2 separate regions of the Homo sapiens genome follow, and region 1 is linked to region 2. The links are contacts of gene promoters, found by promoter capture Hi-C in blood cells and fetal thymus (Javierre and others, 2016). All regions are on one chromosome and are shown on one strand. The core of a region is centred on a gene start or on the middle of the fragment in contact, and the rest is flanking DNA. Distances in the headings are between cores, read along the strand shown. Region 1 overlaps HIPK1 (homeodomain interacting protein kinase 1). Region 2 holds the start of DENND2C (DENN domain containing 2C).

Region 1 (6,379 bases), core at 2,741-5,240, 720 kb after region 2:
GGTCAGAAGTTCAAGACCAGCTTGGCCAATATGGTGAAACCCCAAATCTACTAAAAATACAAAAATGAGTCAGGTGTGGTGGTGGGCGCCTGTAATCCCAGCTACTCAGGAGGTTGAGACAAAAGAATCGCTTGAACCCAGGAGGTAGAGGTTGCAGTAAGCCAAGATCACACCACTACACTCCAGCCTAGGAGACCCAAGACAGTCCAAAAAAAAAAAAAAAAAGCCCTGGTCAATAAATAACCCTTCATGACAGAAATGCCTTCTGGAAAAAAAAAAAAGAAAAAGAAATGCCTTCTGAAGAGACATGGTGTTGACAGCACACTCTCTAGAGCCAGCCTGTCAGGGTCTGAATCCTAGTTCCATCATTTAATAGCTGCAGGTATATTACTTGATCTCTCTGTGCCTCAGGTTCCTCATCTATAAAATGGAGACAGTAAGAGTTCCCACCACATAGAGTTGTTGTGAAGCTTAAATAAATATATGAAAGCTTTTAGACCAGTGCATGGCACATGGTAAATACTAGTAGGTGTTAGATATAATAACAGTATTATGTTACCATTATTTTAAAACTTTGAACTCTTAGTGTGCTTTTTAGAAATATTCATTAACAGTCCAAGTGAGAAATAAAATGCTAGGGAACTTTAAAGAGATGACTAAGGTAATCCATAACTCAGACGTTTATATATACGAACACATCTAAAATAGAATTATTATCCCCATTACAGAAGAAGAAACTGAGAAAAAGAAAGATTAAGTTATTGGCCTAGAGTCACAGTCAAATAAGTGGCAGAGCTAGGATTTGAATCCCTGCAATCTGGCTCCAGAATTGAGTATATTATATATTACACTGTTTCTCAATAAGTAAAAGTACATACTCATCTATGTAAATTTATATTTGACATGGTGGAATACAAGGGCAATTGTCAAACTATGACTAATTAGGCAATAAGTGGGTTCAAAAAGAAAATAATAGGTAACACTAATAGCAATAATAATAAATGACACATAAATATTGCCTACTATGTGCCATGCACTGTTCTAAGTTCTTTATAAATGTTGAGTCACTTAATCCTTACAACAATCCTATCAAAGTATTATTATGATGTCATCAATTCTAAGATACACATCTTTTTACATGTTAGCACCTCTGAAATTAAGAAGATTCTTACAAATGATGGTATATTTTAGTTTAATGGCAGCGCTTTTCCTTTTTTAAGTGGTACAAAAATAATGTATCTTATAATCAATGGCATGTTAGATTCTATGCAATAAAAGTATTACCTCCATTTTACAGATGAAGAAACTGGCACTAAGAGGTTAAAGTAACTTGCCCAAGGCTACATAACTACTAAAAGATGGTGCCCTTGGCCAGCGCAGTGGCTCACACCTGTAATCCCAGCACTTTGGGAAGCCAAGGTGAGTGGATTGCTTGAGGTCACGAGTTCGAGAACAGCCTGGTCAACACGGTGAAACTCCATCTCTACTAAAAATACAAAAATTAGCTGGGCATGGTGGCGGGCAGCTGTAATCCCAACTACTCAGAGGCTGAGGCAAGAGAATTACTTAAACTTGGGAGGCATAAGTTGCAATGAGTTGAGATCTGCCACTGCACTCCAGCCTGGGCGACAGAGCGAGACTCCATCTCAACAAAAGAAAAAGGATGGTACCCAAGCTATTTGGATCCAAGATTTCAGCTCTTAGGCACTGGATCATCTTCTCCAAATAATTTCCTTTCTTTCTTACAAGTCATGGAATTATAATCTATAAGGACACTCCAGATCCAGATCCAGATCCAGATTCAGATTCCTCATGTTACAGGAGTTAAATGGAAAACAGATCTTTCCGTGAAGAACCATCTAACTGGCCGTGTCTCCTCACAGAATACCCAGGTTTCTCAAACTACTTTCAAGTGATATGTGCTTATTGTTGTTTTGTGTATATGTGCAGGGGGTTGAGGGAAGGCAAGGATTAAGCAAGGAGAATATAATTTCCCTAAATAAGAATATCCCTCCCCATCTAAGCAAACTAGGCATAGAAGAAAAAAAAAATCCTCCCCTAGTATTTATACATAAATAGTGGCCCTTAGAAAACAGTAAATCTGGGGACTCCACAGGGCCTGAAAGCTTTTCTGATCCTTAAATACAAATAGCAGTCGACCCAGGCCTCTTCGGGCTTACACTTTTTAACAGCTATGGGTGGAACCACCAATATCATCAGTTTTTGTAGTATTTAATTTGAACTGTGGTTTTGTTTACCAAAGAAATAACTGGCCGGGTGCGGTGGCTCATGCCTGTAATACAAGCACTTTGGGAGGCCGAGGAGGCTGGATCACCTGAAGTCAGGAGTTTGAGACCAGCCTGGCCAACATGGTGAAACCCCATCTCTACTAAAAATATAAAAAATCAGCCAGGTGTGGTGGCGGGCACCTGTAATCCCAGCTACTCAGGAGGCTGAGGCAGGAGAATTGCTTGAACCCAGGAGACGGAGGTTGCAGTGAGCTGACACAGTGCCACTGCACTCCAGCCTGGGTGACAGAGTAAGACTCTGTCTCAAAAAAAAAAAAAAAAGAAAAGAAAAGAAGTAACCCTCAAAAGTGATATTCCTGTTGCAGGTGGCTAGAGGCACATATTACTGATGGAATTTCAGAGTTCAGTGAAATCTCAACCATAATGGCATGTTTTCAACACTGCACAAGTTTGACAGGCGCATTAATAAGCTAGTAAGACTACCCAGAAACAACATAAAAGCTTTTCTAAAATTGAAAAGGAACAAAATTTTCTACTCCTAGTGAGCAGAATCATTAATTTCCAAGTTCATGACAATGCCAAAAATAGCTGGCAGGGGGAGCACAACTGGCAATGAGCCAAAATAAAAACTGGGTTTAGAACATTCCAAAGCATCAATTGGAGGGCAGCATATTGATTTTGCTATTCCTACCATACTAGAAAGACATTTTAAAGTCCAAAAGGTAGGTCACAGAGAATGGCCAGGCCACTCTATAACTTTCTTCTTTAAAAGGTAGCGATAACAGGCCAGGCGCGGTGGCTCACGCCTATAATCCTAGCACTGTGGGTGGCCAAGGCACGTGGATGGCCTGAGGTCAGGAGTTCAAGTCCAGCCTGGCCAACATGATGAAACCCAGTCTCTACTAAAAATACAAAAATTAGCTGGGCATGGTGGCAGGCGCCTGTAATCCCAACTACTCCAGAGGCTGAGGCAGGAGAATCGCTTGAACCCGGGGGGCAGAGGTTGCAGTGAGCCAAGATTACGTCAATTCACTCCAGACTGGGCGTAAGAGCGAAACTCCGTCTCAGAAAAAAATAAAAAAGGTAGCAATAATATATGATAACTGTCTCGAGCTTAAAGTTTTCTGGGAAATTAAGGAAAATATCACTTCCACAGCCCCCAAGTCCCATTTAATTAAAAAAAAAAACTGAAGATTAGCTGAAAGTTTTTTCATTTGGTCTCACCCTGCTTTTGGAGTGACAAAAGCAGCTAAGGACTTCCAGCAAAAGCTCAGTCAAAACAGCAACTCTACCGTATCTACCTTATAAAAAGGCAAATAGCAAAAGGAAAAACAAAAAAAGGAAAGCAGTTTAAAAAAAAAAAAAATACGGCCAGAAACGGCGGTTCACACCTATAATCCCAGCACTTTGGGAAGCCAAGGCAGGAGGATCACTTGAGCAGGAGTTTGAGACCAGCCTAGGCAACACAGCAAGACCCAATCTCTACCAAAAAAATTTAAAAAATTAGCCAGGTATGGTGGTGCATGCCTGCAGTTCTAGCTACTCAGGAAGCTGAGGTGGAAGGATCACTTGAGCCCAGGAGGTCAAGGCTGCAGTGAGCCATGATTGCGCCACTGCACTCCAGCCTGAGACCCTGTCTCAAAAACAAACAAAAAAGCAGTAAGGCTGCTTAGTTCACTGAGGGTTTTGTATTATTTGGGCCTATAAATGTTAGACTTACCCAAACTCTACGAAGCAAAAAGACAAGTTATTTTCTACTTTACTGAACAGTAAGGCATCACTAGAGCAGGTTTATCTCTAAGGACTGAATACTTTAAACTGTGAATCCAGATTATAATTATTAGAATTATTTTCATTACATCTTTCCTCTTGGCCTCCTTATTTCTTAATCCCTCAATATAAACTCTACAGACACGTAAAACTCTGGTTCTACCTCATTTGTGTAATAAGGAAACAGAGTTAGATAATTACTCTTCTAGGTCCCTTTCCAGCTGTAACATTCCAACAACTGGGCAGTAAAAAAGGTTATCTACAGAAGCACAGGAAAGTGAAAGAAACTGTTAAAAACTGGCAGTGTTCACTTCAGTAGGAAAATGGCATTAATTGTGCTTTGAACATGGCAAGTCTCCTCTTTGAAGACACATCCCATCCTTAAAAAACAAATACTAAACAGGCTCTGGTTATTACAGCTAAGTGATAGAAACAACAATCCCTGCCTTTTGATTCCCCAACTTCAAACTTCTTTAAGTTGAAAAATTCTTCCAACCAACATTGTTGAGGTTAATTTCACTGGCACCCAGAGCAAGCTAAGGTTAGGATCACTTAACACAAATCACTCTGATTATTTTCATGAACATTTTCGTTTCTTTCTTCCTATCTCAGAGACATCAAACCTACTTACTTACCAATTAGAGAGGTTACATAAAACCTAACTTCCTGCATCAGTGGCTTAGGTGAAACTATATTTTGACTGCCAGAGGAAATTAGATTATTTGTTTGTCTAGGATAAATGGAAGATACGTTTTCCTTCTCTAGACCTTTTCCTTCCGTAAGTAACAAAGTGATTCAGCTTGAAATAAAGGCTGGCTAGTTTGTTCAGTAGGGAAAAACATTCAGCCTGTAAGCATGGCAAACCTTTGTCTCTAAAACTCAAGCCCGAAAGACAGGAGCTTTGCTTGGAGTCTGTGCACATTTACAGTGAGCCAGAGAGTAAAGTATATTATTTCCACTGCCTGAATCATTTAGCCATGCCCAGGGCCAATGGACACAGCAAGTTGGCAAATTTATGTGAGCTGATAATACTGGCATATTATCAGAAAGACAAAGCAAGGTAAACTAAAAAGGTGGGTAAGAGAAGGACTAGCTTTGGAGTCAAAATGCTTCACCAGCCAAACAGATTTCACAGAGGTTTTTTGAAAGACAGAAGGGTGAGGACTTAATGGACTCTAATATGGCAACAAAGCAACATCAAAGAAGCTTAAGAGGACCACTGCGGGTAAAACTAGTGATAAAGAAGGAATGCCTGAGCTGCTGTTCCATCTGCCTTAGGCTCATTATCAAGTATTACTGTGACACAACAGAACACTCATGTTAAATCCTAAACACTGTCAAGCCCTGGGCACTGAACTTCAGTATACAGAGTAATTACTCAGTAATACACAGAATGAACTCCTGTTTTTAAGAGGCAAACTTAGCTCCACTTAAAATTATAGTCAACAACTATATTGCAGTGAATTTAAAGAAAGCTTTGTCGAAGGGTAACTTTGAAGATTTGAAAACCTTAGTTTCTATAAAAAACAAAACCAAAATGAATCAATTGACAGCTTAAATTAAAAGGATAAAAAATACAAAGATCAGCAACCTAACACTGAAAATTATTCAAATGAATTACACATTACAGAAAGCTAAGCAGCCAAATAATTCATTTTATTTTGTATTAACATGCCCCAATTATAACAAAGCCAAATAATTTTTATCTCCTATTGCTCTCCCTTTTTCAATTTAAAAACTACTCTGTTATCACAAGAGAATGCACTTTGTCTTTGACAGGGCAAACAAATAGTTAAAGAACACCTGCAGGCACAGAGTCAAGACAGAAAGGAAGAGCTGATCAGCCCTCTTCCTTCAGCTGTGGTCTGCCTAGTCCCTCCTGAGGACTCAAAATGGGATGCTGCGCTGAATTCTTCAGTGCACCTGTAGAGTATGTTATATATATGTTATGTTGGTGTGGCTGGTGGTGAGACTGCTCAAAGGAGAGCATTAAAAAGCAAATGTAGTTGGAACCTAAATCTCCCAAGGCATAAATAAATAAATGGAGATGACATTCTTAAAGTTAGCCAAGGTTGCCTAGGGCAGCATAAAACCAGAAAACAAAGGCTCTAAGAGTTTATTTACCTTACCTCAAGTAAAAAATACCAGTTTTATAAAACTGTGAAAAGATATAAAGAAATAAGGATGGACTGACTTACTATTAAGCTGTCAATACTACCCAAAGTCATCTACAGATTCATCGCTATCCTTAATAAAAAGCAATTATGGTTTTTGTATAAAATAGAAAAACCCATCCTAAAATTTATATGGACCCTCAAAGACCCCAAATAGCCAAAACAATCTTGAAAAAGAACAAAGTT
Region 2 (7,160 bases), core at 730-3,229:
AACCTTTTGTAGAGACGCGGTTTCACCATGTCACCCCAGCTGGTCTCAAACTCCTATGCTCAAGCGATCCATGTGCCTTGGCCTCCCAAAGTACTGGGATTACAGGCGTGAGCCACTGTGCCCAGCCTGAACTTTCAAATGGAAAAAAAATTGAAAGCAAATTTCTGCACGTTTCTATATTCTACACATGCAGCCATAAGCATAGGTGTAACCCTGATGGCATGTTTGTACTAGCTCTGGTGTAAGAATCTCTTCCTGATTTCTGAAGTTGAAGTTTTGTTTGTTGAGTATTTGTGAACCCTTTAAAGAACCAGATTTTATTTTACCTTGGCCTCCTCATCATCAAAATAGTACAAATTGCTACATTAAACACTGTATTCTCAGACTTCAAAGGGCATTAACTACCATTATGTATATCTCCATCTTACCCATGAGAGGGCAGTAGAATACATACATGTGAATTCATTTATTAATCTATAAATTTGGTTTCATACGTGATACTTGGAATTCAACCTGCCTTATTTTGCCAAATAATCTTCCTGAATGCAGGGGTCAAAAAATACATTTCTGGGCTGGGTGCAGTGGCTCATGTCTGTAATCCCAGCACTTTGGGAGGCTGAGGCAGGAGGACTGCTTGAGCTCGGGAGTTGGAGACCAGCCTGGGCAACATAGCGAGACCCTGTCTCTACAAAAAAATAAAAATAAAAATATTAGCCGGGGGTGGTGGTGCATGCTTATAATACTAGCTGCTTGGGAGGCCGAGGTGGGACGATTCTTTGAGCCTAGGAAGTTGAGACTTCAAGTGAGCTATGATTGGGCCACCGCACTCCAGTGTGAGTGACACAAAGAGACCCTGTCTCAATAAATAAATAGATAGACACATTATATAAGAATTTTTTTTTTTTTGGTGGGGGAAGCCCATAATGATCAGTGTGCAAAATTTACTACAAACAATATCCACATTTATTTCCTCATTGGGACATGATTTTTTTTAAGTATGTCATTACTTTTTTTTCCCCCATCATAGAATGTAATTTCTGTTTTACTGTCTACAGGTGATAGTTTCACAACGGTTTGGGATATGCTACCTTTATTGTTTGGGTTAAGTTTGCTTGTGACAGTCATCCGTGATACGTAACTAAACACCTCTCTTTCTGGTAGTCTTCTATTTTGGTACCTCTGTGTGAACAAATGTAGGAAGAGTTTGGTCACCAGACCCAAGAGGCTCTGGCTGGGTGGGGTGGGGTGGGGTGGGGCGGGGCGAGGCGGGGTGGGGTGGTTAGCGAGTGCCTGGGAAACAGGCTCAACTGATCCTTGTCCCGCAGCCTCGGTGAAACTGGGTTACAGCTTGCAGTAGGCACAACACCACGCACATACCTAAGCAAGAGCGTGTTGCAGGCGGAGCGCTTAGGCATGTGTGTCTCAACAGGGCGTGGGGGCTGACCTCACGCACTGGGAGTATCAAGGCACCCCCGTTCTGAGATTCCAAGCCTGAGGTGCCGCGAGAGTTATTTGCTTCTCTTGACGTTTCAAGTTGGCACCGTAGTGCAATTGTTTGCTCACTGAGGTCAGCCTAGGAAACAGTGCTTGGATTCCCTGATTAAGCCAGGCTTTATCTTGTTGAGTAGTTGTGAAGAGTAAACCTTCACATGAAGCATAGGGCCGTCTCCGTGGGGCCGATGCGACGGCAGGCGAAGGCGATGGAGCTCTGGCTCGAGGGCTTGGCCGGACGACGGTGACACTGGTCGCCCGCCTGCTGGAACTGCAGTGACCGAGGTCCTGGCAAGGTTCTGGCCATACAGCGGACTTGAGGCGTGGTGGTTCCCCTCACCGCCGGCCGGGGCGGTGTCGGAGGCGGGCATAGCGTGAGGGGTGGGAATAGGAGCCAATAAGAACTGAGCCTTGCCAGGGAGGGCGGGGCTAGGGGGTGGGGCTGCAGCCGGGACGGGGCCTTCGGCAGGGCCTGCGGGGGCGGGACGGAGCGGACCCGAGTGATACCCGGGAGACTAGCTTGGCCACAGGAGACAACGTTGAGGTACAGACAGGTAAGAGTCGGGGTGATTCGGCGCGGGGTTTTAAGCCGCAGGGGCTTCGGACTCTCGGGGCTGTCGGCATCACCCTTCTGGGCGTCGGGTGCGGGGCTGTGGCGCCGCGGCGTAGTCCTCGGACGGTGCGAGCCGAGCTGGCGGAGGTGGTGTCTCCGCGCCCCGCTGTCTCGGCACCTCCTCCGTCCGGAGGAGCAACCGGTTGTTGGGCCCAGCTTTGGGACGTCCTCTCGTGGCCGCACGGGTTGTGGCGGAGCCTGGCTGAAGACCTCCTCGCTACCTCAGGGGCTTGGGGACCCCTAGGCTGGGCGCCGCTCTCTGCTGGGGAAGAGGGAGGGAGCGCCCGGCAGCCTGGGGAAACGCGGGCTTTCTCCAAAATTAGCCAGTGAGCTTGAACTTCGACATGCTGGGACGATGCACTTCCAAACAATATTTTGCTTTTTTTGGTGTTTTGATTCTTAACAGCATCTAATACGCACAATACCGAAAGTTGTCAAGTAGAATTTTAATTTAAAAGTCTGACAGTGGAACACCTAAGAGCTTTTGAGTAACTAGAGCTGTATAGCAGCTGATGATTAGATTATGAGTCAAAAGGCTCAAGTCTAGGGCCAGAACCCGCGGAACCAGATGTGATACCTCGGCCAAATTAACTTCCTGGGCCTCTCTTTCCGTAACTGTGAAACTGGCAAGTTCATGCCTATGGGTATTCTCAGGGTCAAATCAGATGAGTGACAGTATTCTACAAATGTCAGATATTTGAACGTGCGTGTGGAGCGTGTATATTCTGTGAAGCAACTACTACTTGCCTGGTACATAGTAGGCACTTTACAAACGTTTACCCTAAAGCTAGTGATTCTTCTGCAGTGTTTTAGATAAAGTGATAGATCCTTGCTTACTGTGTAAATAAGTTGTTTAAACTTTTCCCACAAAGTGACCCCCATTGTTTGAGTGTGTCCTATTTTTAAATGATTGATGAAATTTTCTAGAATAGCACAGTGGTGTTATCTATACACTGTTGCTGAATCATTTACCGCGAAGTCTGTAGCAATCAAATAATCTACTTCTTTGTCTTAGCTAAATAGTTGTAGTTTAAGATACCTGCTAAAGTAAGCTGGGAATATTGTTCCAAATCAAGACTTTAATTTGTTTTTGTGAATTGACGGGCTGCTTATAGGAAGATTTAAATCTTCCAAAATATTGTTAATATATAGCCATATTTTTTCATACAGCCTTTATTATAGACGTTTTTGTTCTTTACTATGGATATGTGTGCGAGGGATTTTAGCGGGGAGATGGGAAATAAAAAAGAAAATGGCAGTTTTGTAACCTGTAGGCTTTTGCTGGGGATACTTGTAGGCCTGTTCTGAGTTTGCCAGGCAGAAACCAGGAAATGTAGTAATTATGTGTCTTGGTCTTTCATTAGTTGGGGTGTGTGTGTGTGTGTGTGTGTGTGTGTGTGTGTTGAATGTGGCAGTACGTTTTTTAAATGCAGCAATAAAGGAAGAATATTTATTTTTCTTAATGACAATAAGCAGTTTTCTAAAGCTGGAAATTATATTACTTTTAAATGGTCTGTAGTGAGTCTTAAGTTATAGGCAAGAATTTTAGACCACTGGATACCAAGATCAAATTAAATGAAGTAGTAGAGGGAAAGTTACTAGTGAATGTAATTTTTGTGTGTGTTGCTTTAGAAGTTTTACTTAAACATGTTTCAGCAATTCAGTGGAGGATGGGTCTTTTGAAGCTACTTTAAAACATGAGTTTTAAACGTACTCCATGTATAAATTTTTCTGTGATTTACAATTTCTTGATCTTGGAGGTCTGAAACCTTACATTCACATTGTTTTTTGAGGGCCTACTACACAATAGGCACAAGATTATATTTATGTAAGAGCAGTATGTAATTCCTGTCATCTAGGAGATTCCATTCTACCAAGTGGGCTAAAATAAGTACTGAAAAAACAAAAGCTGTTTTTAAAGCGGATGGTAACAATAACAACATCAGCTATCATTCATTGGTACCTAGTCTGTGCCAGGCAGTATTCTAAATTCTTTACATGTATTAGCTTACTTAATCCTCACAACAGCACCATGAGGGATGTTATTATGATTATCTCATTAAGAGGCATAGAGAGGTTGAGTAACTTGCCCATGATTAGACAACCTAGATAGCAAAAGTAGGATTCAAATCAGTCATTCTCCAAGGACCTGATTGTAACCTTTGCGCTATACTGAGTTTCAAATTCTGTGAGTGAGATACAAATGACATCTAATAGGTATTTTAAAAAGAGGTCTATAAAAAACTATTTCAAAAAGAAGGAAAGAAAGAGGAAAAAATAAACTGGTATTGCAATACCAGTTTTATTGCAATTAAAACGATGTAATTATAGTTTATCTGTGGGAACCCTTTTTTTGTTATTGTTGCCAGTGAATGACATGGGGATGATTCTAAGCTCTCAGTCCCTCAGTAACAACAGTTATGGCATTATCTTAACAATATGAGGTGCTTATTTTTCATTAAAAAGCACCTCATAACTTCTTTCATTAAGAAGTTAAAAATATCTGTTCTCAGACTGTAAATTAAGTATTAGATTCAAGAAGAGAAAATGCTTCCCTGTCTTTAAGAAGCTTATAACCCAACATGTAAATAAGGCTCTACAATTTCAGCATGATAAGAGCTGTAAAGAAGTATAGATTTAGGTACGTTTGAAGAGTTGCAAGAAAAAGAAAGAAGTATAGATAGAATTTAACCACTGATGAGGAAAAATCATTCTGCGTGTGGTAGGGAGGACGATTAGAGAGAAGATATTAAATTTGGCTTTGAAGGATGAATAGGAGTTTGCTGAAATTGGGTCAGGAAACAGGAGATATGAATGAAAACCAGGGATAAGTGTGCAAGTATATGGTATGTTTGAGGAATGTGTTGTAGTCCATTGTACTGAAGGCCAGGGTGTGTAGAAATGGGTGGTTTGGCTAAAGGAGATGGTGCCTGGAAATAAGATGAAAAAATAAAATTGCAAAGCTTCCTTGCTGATTGCATTAGGATCACTAAAATTGCTAGGTAATGTGGTATTTCACTTCCCTTCATTTGGAACAATGAAATGAGTAATTAGTTCAGTTTGGCAGAATGTTTCACTAAAAAATATGGTGTTAAAGGTACTTTTAATACTTTGAAGTACAAGATATAAGATAACATTACAGACTTAGGTAAGTAAAAAGTTAAGATTTAGGGCCAGGCGTGGTGGCTCATGCCTGTAATCCCAGCACTCTGGGAGGCCAAGGCAGGTGGATCAAGAGGTCAGGAGATCGGGAGCATCCTGGTCAACATGGCGAAACCCCATCTCTACTAAAATACAAAAATTATACGGGTGTGGTGGCGTGTGCCTGTAATCCCAGCTACTTGGGAGGCTGAGGCAGGAGAATCATTTGAACCAGGGAGTCAGAGGTTGCGGTGAGCTGAGGTCGTGCACCTGCACTCCAGCCTGGCAACAGAGTGAGACTGTCTTTAAAAAAAAAAGTTATGATTCAGAAAAAGAGGGAAAAAAGTCTTCTGATGCTAGGTCTTGAAGAGCCAGAGTATCGTGCTAAGGACTTTGGACTTGATTCTAAAGACAATGGAGAGCCAGTGAAGGATTTTAGATATAGGTGTTTAGGAAAGATAAGCTGAAAATGGTTTGGAGGCTGAATTGGATGAAGAGAGACAAAAGGTAGGGAGATAAGTTAGGAGGCTGTTGCTATTGAAATAGTCCAGATAAGGGAGGATAGGGGCCTGGAGTAGGAAAATAGTAATAGGGATGGAGAGGAGAGGATAGATAGTGAAGGTGTAGAATTTGACAGGGCTTTAAAATCAATTGGCTCAAAAGAGGAACAGAAAAGTAAATGACTTAGTTTTTTAGCTTGGAAAACTGTTTGGATGAAGGGTCTTGTTTTATTTTTTAATATTGGAGGAAGATAATTGTTTCCATTTTGAATTCATGTTGAGTTTGAATTGTCTTTGGAGCATTCAAGTGGAGATGTCGAGAGAGGATCTAGAGTCCAGAAGCCAGGCTAAAATTGGTGATTCAGATTTCAGAGGTAGCCAGTAAGTGTTAATTGAAGCCGTAAGAGCAGATGAAATTGCTCAAGGGAGTATGTAGAATTAGAAGAGAAGAGGGCCAAGAATAAATGATTTGCTTTATGTAAGTAGAAGGAATTATTTATCTATGCTAATTTTGTCCAACAAATTATTATTATAAAGCAATGAAATGGATTTTAATTGAAAGTTGAACAACTTTTACATCCAAATGAGTCCTGTTCTTTTAAAATTTCATTTGGAAGTCACTCATTTATTCCAGAAGTACAGATGCTCCTCAATTTTCGATAGGGTTATGTCTGAATAAACCCATCATAAGTTGAAAATATTGTTAGTCAACATGTGATAAACTTACGAAGGGTTTATCCGAATGTAACCCCATCATAAGTTAAGGAGGGTACTGAGCACATACTGCTTTGGCACCATCATAAAGTTGAAAAATTGTTAATTTAAACCATCATTAAGTCAGGGACTGTCTGTATTGCCCAAAGTATTATTGGAGCTTCTCTTTGTAAAAAGCTTTATAGCAAATTCACAGCTACACAAGAACGTAGATCTTCTGGCTTTATTATGGAATTGTTTTTCTGTCTCTTTATTTGCATGGCACATATAACTTATTTACTTTTTTTTTTTTTTTTTCAAGAGACAGGGTCTTGCTCTGCTACCCTGGCTGGAATACAGTGATGCAATCATAGCTCACTGCAGCCTGGACCTCTTGGGCTCAAGGGATCCTCCTGCTTCAGTCTCCTGAGAAACTAGGACTACAGGCATGCACCACCACCCCCTGCTAATTTTTATTTTTTATTTTATTTTTCTTGAGACAGAGTCTCTCTCTGTTGCCCAGGCTGGAGTGCAGTAGTGTGATCTCAGCTCACTGCAACCTCTGCCTCCCAGGTCCAAGTGATTCTCCTGTCTCAGCCTCCCAAGTAGCTGGGACTACAGGCGCACACCACCATGCCTGGGTAATTTTTTGTATTTTTGGTAGAGATGGGGTTTCACCATATTGATCAGGCTGGTCTCGAACTCCTGACCTCAGGTGATCC

What was found. The method cuts DNA at HindIII sites, captures the fragments that hold promoters and counts their contacts. A CHiCAGO score of 5 or more calls a contact.
Region 1: a fragment that was not itself captured here is called in contact with the fragment with the promoter of DENND2C in region 2 in 1 of 17 cell types (total B cells); the score reaches 6.7 in total B cells.

Annotation. Positions count from the first base shown.
Region 1 is chr1:113,945,792-113,952,170 of GRCh38, reverse strand. All of the region lies in intron 2 of HIPK1 (homeodomain interacting protein kinase 1), which reads right to left. Among named protein-coding and RNA genes, the nearest start is that of HIPK1-AS1, 19 kb to the right of the region's middle. RefSeq lists a silencer at 178-378. The HindIII fragment of the contact is 2,475 bases long and covers 2,753-5,227 here.
Region 2 is chr1:114,664,868-114,672,027 of GRCh38, reverse strand. It overlaps DENND2C (DENN domain containing 2C), which reads left to right and starts at 1,979. Exons shown (of 21, transcript NM_001256404.2): 1 at 1,979-2,045. LOC124904354 (a long non-coding RNA gene) reads right to left here and starts at 1,617. Exons shown (of 2, transcript XR_007066465.1): 1 at 1,378-1,617; 2 at 1,074-1,179. RefSeq lists an enhancer at 1,606-1,765 and a silencer at 1,886-1,975. The HindIII fragment of the contact is 6,814 bases long and covers 1-4,675 here.